Regions from separate parts of the Homo sapiens genome. Here region 1 is linked to region 2. The links are contacts of gene promoters, found by promoter capture Hi-C in blood cells and fetal thymus (Javierre and others, 2016). All regions are on one chromosome and are shown on one strand. Each heading gives the region's core, a stretch centred on a gene start or on the middle of the fragment in contact. The rest is flanking DNA. Distances are from core to core; before and after follow the strand shown. Region 1 overlaps LOC107986858 (a long non-coding RNA gene). Region 2 holds the start of ASIC3 (acid sensing ion channel subunit 3).

The links. The method cuts DNA at HindIII sites, captures the fragments that hold promoters and counts their contacts. A CHiCAGO score of 5 or more calls a contact.
Region 1: a fragment that was not itself captured here is called in contact with the fragment with the promoter of ASIC3 in region 2 in 1 of 17 cell types (total CD4 T cells); the score reaches 7.0 in total CD4 T cells.

The regions. Positions count from the first base shown.
Region 1 is chr7:150,343,861-150,346,560 of GRCh38, reverse strand. All of the region lies in intron 2 of LOC107986858 (a long non-coding RNA gene), which reads right to left. Among named protein-coding and RNA genes, the nearest start is that of RARRES2, 3.6 kb to the right of the region's middle. The HindIII fragment of the contact is 2,219 bases long and covers 282-2,500 here.
Region 2 is chr7:151,047,200-151,049,940 of GRCh38, reverse strand. It overlaps ASIC3 (acid sensing ion channel subunit 3), which reads right to left and starts at 1,410. Exons shown (of 11, transcript NM_004769.4): 1 at 522-1,410. The coding sequence starts at 1,055. It overlaps ABCB8 (ATP binding cassette subfamily B member 8), which reads right to left. Exons shown (of 16, transcript NM_007188.5): 16 at 2,159-2,741. The HindIII fragment of the contact is 11,911 bases long and covers 1-2,395 here.

The DNA of each region.
Region 1 (2,700 bases), core at 142-2,641, 700 kb after region 2:
CCTCCTGAGTCTCTCTCTCCCTGAGGATCAAAACCATGTCTACAGCTGTTCAAGCCAGAAACCTGGGATTCACCCCTCTCTGTTGACCTCGACCCCAACATCTTATCAATCACCAAACCCTGGTGCTTTAGTCCTGAGGTATTTCTGGACTTTGTTTTCCCATCTTCACTGCCTCCAGTTTTGTCCCTGCCACATTCGTCTCTCACCCGGACAATCACAATTATCTCCTGCTGAGATTTATTCCCTTTTATCCACTCTCCACACAGCAGCCAGAGTAAGCTTTCAGAAATGCTATTGGGACCAGGCGCGGTGGCTCACACCTGTAATCTCAGCAGTTTGGAAAGGTAAGGTAGGAGGATCACTTGAGCTCAGAAGTTCAAGACCAGCCTGGGCAACAAAACAAAACCTCCTCTCTCCTGAAAAAAAAAATAATAATAATAAAAACTAGCTGGGTGAGGTGGTCCTGTAGTTCTAGCTACTGGGAGGCTGAGGCAGGAAGATCAATAGAGCCTAGAACATGGAGGCTGCAGTGAGCTCTGATTATGCCATTGCACTCCAGCCTGGGCAACAGAATAAGACTTTGTCTCAAAAAAAGAGAAAAGAAAAGAAGACAAAAGAAAAGCTGTTGCTTTGCTTTCTGATTTTAAAAGTATTAAGGCCAAGCACAGTGGCTCAAGCCTGTAATTTCAGCACTTTGAGAGTCCAAGGTGGGTGGATTGCTGAACCTAGAAGTTTGAGATCAGCCTGGGCAATGTGACAAAATCCTGTCTCTAGAAAAAAATACAAAAATTAGCCTAGGATGATGGCATGCACCTGTGGTCCAAGCTACTTGGGAGGCTGAGGTGGGAGGATCGCTTGAGCACAGGAGGTTGAGGCTGCAGTGAGCCATGATTGAGCCACTGCTCTCCAGCTTGAACGACAGAGCAAGACCCTGTCTCAAAAAATAGTTTTTAAAGTTTTTTTATATTTTAATAGACAAATTATCCACAAGTTATAAAAATTTAAAAGTACAAAGGGAGTACAGTTTTCCTGCCTCTGTTTTCCCCAGCTGGACAGATCCTCTCCTCACAGGCAAACACTGTTATAAGTTTCTTGTTTTTCCCTTCTAGAAATATTCCATGCATTTACAAACACAAAAATTTGTTCATTTTTAGTTTTAGTTTTTACTCACATAATTGGTAACACATGCTCTGCCTGCAATATCCAATATGGTAGCCACCAGCCACAGGTTTAGGAACACTTGCCATGTGGCTGGTGTGACTGAGGTATTTATTGGAATGCTAAAACAAGAGATTGATGCTTCCAATGTTGCTTCATTTCACTTTAGGGTACATATTGAAGATATTTGTGCTCAGTTTTCTGAAATTTATTCTATGCAAGTCTCATGGCTACAGCCATTAAAACTAATTCCGTATTTAAGTGGAAATGCTATGAATCACTGCTGGTTTTATGGAACTGTTGAAAGCAATGAAAGATAATGAATTTAATGATCTTTTCTTTACCAAAGCTCATTGTCAGGGTTGTAGAAGAGTTCTCCTAAGATTTACTGTACTTTTAACTAACTCCAAGATTTTCTTGAGACAGAAGCCATGATTACCAAATATACAACAATAAGTATTATTATTATTTGTTTTGGGGACAAGGTTTTGCTCTGTGGCCAAGTCTGAGAGTGGTGGCTTGAGCCTATAATCCCAACACTTTGGGAGGCTGAGGTGGGAGGGTCATGTAGTGGCATGATCATAGCTCACTGCAACCTTGACTTCCCAGGCTCAAGTGATCGTCCCCCGCCAGCCTCCTGAGTAGCCAGGACTACAGACTTTTGCCACCACACTCAGCTAATTAAACTTTTTTTTTTTTGTAAAGATAGCCTCTCTCTATATTGCCCAGGCTGGTCTTGAACTCCTGGGTTCAGTGATCCACCCACCTTGGACTCCCAAAGTGCTAGGATTACAGGCATGAGTCACTACTCTCAACCCAAATATTCAATAATTAAAAATAAAAAAGTCAGTGTTTTCTCACCAATACCACACTACATATAAATGGGCTAAATTTGAATATCCAAGGAGATGAAACCTCATTTGTGACCTAGCCAGATAAATATAAGCATTTCAAATTAAATATTTTCATAATACTGACAAATAATTACAATCTACATACTTTTGTCACAAGAATCAACATACAGAGGTTTTAATTGTAATATACAGCATTGTGTAAATTGGCAAAATTTCAAGAAAAATGTGAAGAATTCTTAGTTGATATTGATAAATTTAGAATGGCTTTTGAATTTATGCAATATCATTTTTGAATTTATGCTAATGGTACCGAATTGACACAAGTTGGAAAATGTACTTAACTTCAATAGGTGTAGTTTTGCAACTGATATGCTCTTACTTCAAAGTCAAATCACTTCTTCTAAAAAAAACTATTTTTGTCAATGTGGTTGCAAATATTAAAGGACAATGTTTTTTGGTACTCAGTTCAGTTATTGGAAAACTAAGCTTGGAACAACTGGATACGTGAGTCTACTTTTTTAGCTGTCATGACCAGGAAGATCATTAACCATCATTAAATAGTGAAGTCCTGTTGTTGCTCCCCTGGACTGGGACATGTTACCTGGAGCTGAGCTCATGAATATGCCCTAAGTAGTCCTTTCACACATCCACACCTATGAGTGCTCTGCAGTAGGACTGTCCACCTCTT
Region 2 (2,741 bases), core at 161-2,660:
TGGGAGCCCATCAACTCAGCTCCTCCACCCCGCCAATCCCCACCAAAGCCCAGGGCACAGCCTACAGGTTTTTCTGTGTTTCTCTGGGAACTGCAGGAAAAGGAAATGGGCCCCTGTGGCTGTCCTCCGGGGCTGGCAGTATGTTGAAAAGGCAGAGGGAAAGCAAGCCCCCCCCACCTCCTGGCAGAGATAGGGGTCTTCTGCCCCAGAATGGTCCCACCATGGAGGACCCCCAGCCCCAGGAGCAGGGCCTCCCTGGGCCAGACCTCAGGCCTAGGGCCAGCCGGGGTCAGTGTGGCCTCACATGCTCCCCTCGGGCTGGGAGACAGAGAAAGCCCCAAGGAGGACAGCTTCCTGGGCTGCACGGAGTGGCACTGGGGGGTGGGGAGTCCATGGCTGGTAGGAAGGAAGAGGTCCCCTGGCTTTGGGGGAGCCTGTGCTGGCTAGGGAATTGTGGGTGCTGGGCAGGGACTGGTCGGCTCTCTGGGTCCCTGGCAGGATAGGTAGGGAGGTCAGCTCACCGTGGTGAAGTTCTCAGGCCCACAAGGTTGGCCACGGAAGCGACAGTCCAGCAGCATGTCATCCAGGGAGTGCCCAGCACGGGCATAGAGTTGCGCCATGTCAAAGGTGGGACTGGGCATGAAGCCGGGCGGTGCAGGGGGCCGGCCCAGGGCGCGCAGGAAGGCGGCGTGCTCTGCGGGATCCAGGCCCAGCAGCGCAGACCCAGCCCAGTGCAGGTCGTTGGGCGTTAGGCGCGAGCGGCGCAGTGGGTTGATGTTGCACAGGGTGACAGCCGGGAAGATGAGCCGGTGGCTTTCTCGCTCATCCAGGGCAGTCTGGTGGTGGAACTCCCTGTAGTAGCGCACCCTCTCAGCCACCTGGTAGAGGAAGGTGGCCACTGACAGGACCACGGCCGCTGCCCACATCCCCCGGCGCAGGCTCAGGCTGCCTGGCCCGAAGACGTGGCCCAGCCCGTGCATCGAGCAGTTGCTGGCGAACACGCGGATGTCCGAGGCTGGCCGCCGGGCCTCCTCTGGGCCTGAGGTGGGCTTCATGGCCAGAACCCAGGAGCGGAACCAGCTACAGAGGCTTGGAAGAAGCGAGAGAGAGTCAGTCAGGGGGCTAAGGAGGCTAAGATAGGATTCAGGAGGCCAGGCAAGGAGAGGAGAAGAGAGGGTGGGAGACAGCCAAGGTTGGAAGGCAGGGAGGCACTAGCCTGGCAGGATTGGAGGAGGTGATCTGGCCGGTCAGGTCCCACTGTTCCTTCCCGAGGAACAGGCGGTGGCTCCACTGGGCTAGGCACTGGGCTGGGGACTCCGCAGCAGACCAGGTGGGACGTAGCTGACCGTGGCAGGCAGGGGCTGCGGAGCGGTGCTGAGCCGGCGGTGCTGAGCCGGCGCTGCTGCAGAGGATTGGGTTTCAGCAGTAGGGGGGAAAGGGGGCCGACAGAGCAGTCTGGGGGGTAGGAGAGGTCCCTAGGGCCCCAGGCTGAGCCATTAGTGCAGCATGGAGGGGGGCATGGCTGTCCAAGACGAGAGGCGCCAGGAGGAAACCGCAGTAATCCTAGGGAGAGCTTGAGAAAAGCCCAGAGGTAGATTGGGCCTGGAGATGCCTTGGGGCCCCCTAGGCTCCCAGTTGCAACCCCTGTACACTGGCCGCGAGGGTCAGTCGCTGACCCCTGGCCTAGCTCCTCTCTCCTTTTGCCTCTGCGGCCTTCCCTCTAGCTTCACCCAGGATCTGTTCCTTCACGAATACCAGAGCTGGCTCTTGGCCAAGCTGGGAAATGGTTGGAAGGCTGGCATCAGCAGATCTCTTCTTTCTGTGCCCCTAGCATCTCAGCCTACACTGGATGGCCAGGGCACTCTTCATGTCCCACTTCCAGGGCCCGTCTGTTTCCTAAGTGTCCCTCTCTCCCTAGGGAGTCAAAGCCTACCTCCCCACACTCAGGCCTCTGAGGATGTTGGCCTCTACAATGGTTATGGGCTCACCTGCCACCCCAGGTAGAACATGGGTGCCCCACCTGCCACCCTCCCGGGTACCACGGGTACCCCACCTGCCATCTCAGGCACAACATGGGTATTCTGTGATTTCCCATCTTACGCTGCTATATCCAGGACCTGGAAAACCTACATTTTTCCAAAGGGCTGCATACCACCCATTATGTGCACATACCATAGTTTATTTAATGACTCCCCCACTGATGGGCACTGGGGGTGTCCAGTCTTTCCATTACAAACAATGTTGCCGTATCATCACACAGATGTGAACTCCCAGGACTTTGGTGGGCTTTTTTTGACCATGAGTGGTAGAAACATGGTTCCACCAGCCAAACGTGTGCACACACCATGCTGCAACTGCTGGGCCACCTGTCTGTCCTCCCAACAGGACACAAGCTTCATGGGGGCAGGGACTGTCCTCATTCCCCATCGTGGGCTCAATGGCACATGACAGGTGCTTGATTAATAAACACTTTGGAAGGACTGAGTACCATGGTTACAGCACAGGCGTACCAGCTCCCCAGAGCCACAGTGCCATGCTTTGCAAGTATTTACTGTAGATGATCCCACTCACACTCTCAAAACAGGCATTCAGCATCAAGCACAGCTAGGCTCCCACTCTCCACTGTGGAGCGAAGGCCGAGGCGAGGTTAGGAAGACGGCGCGGCTCCTGCGGTCTAGCTCTTCCAGCTGGACTAGCCAAGGGGTTTCACTGCTTCTCTAGGGGGCGGGTGAAGGGCTGGA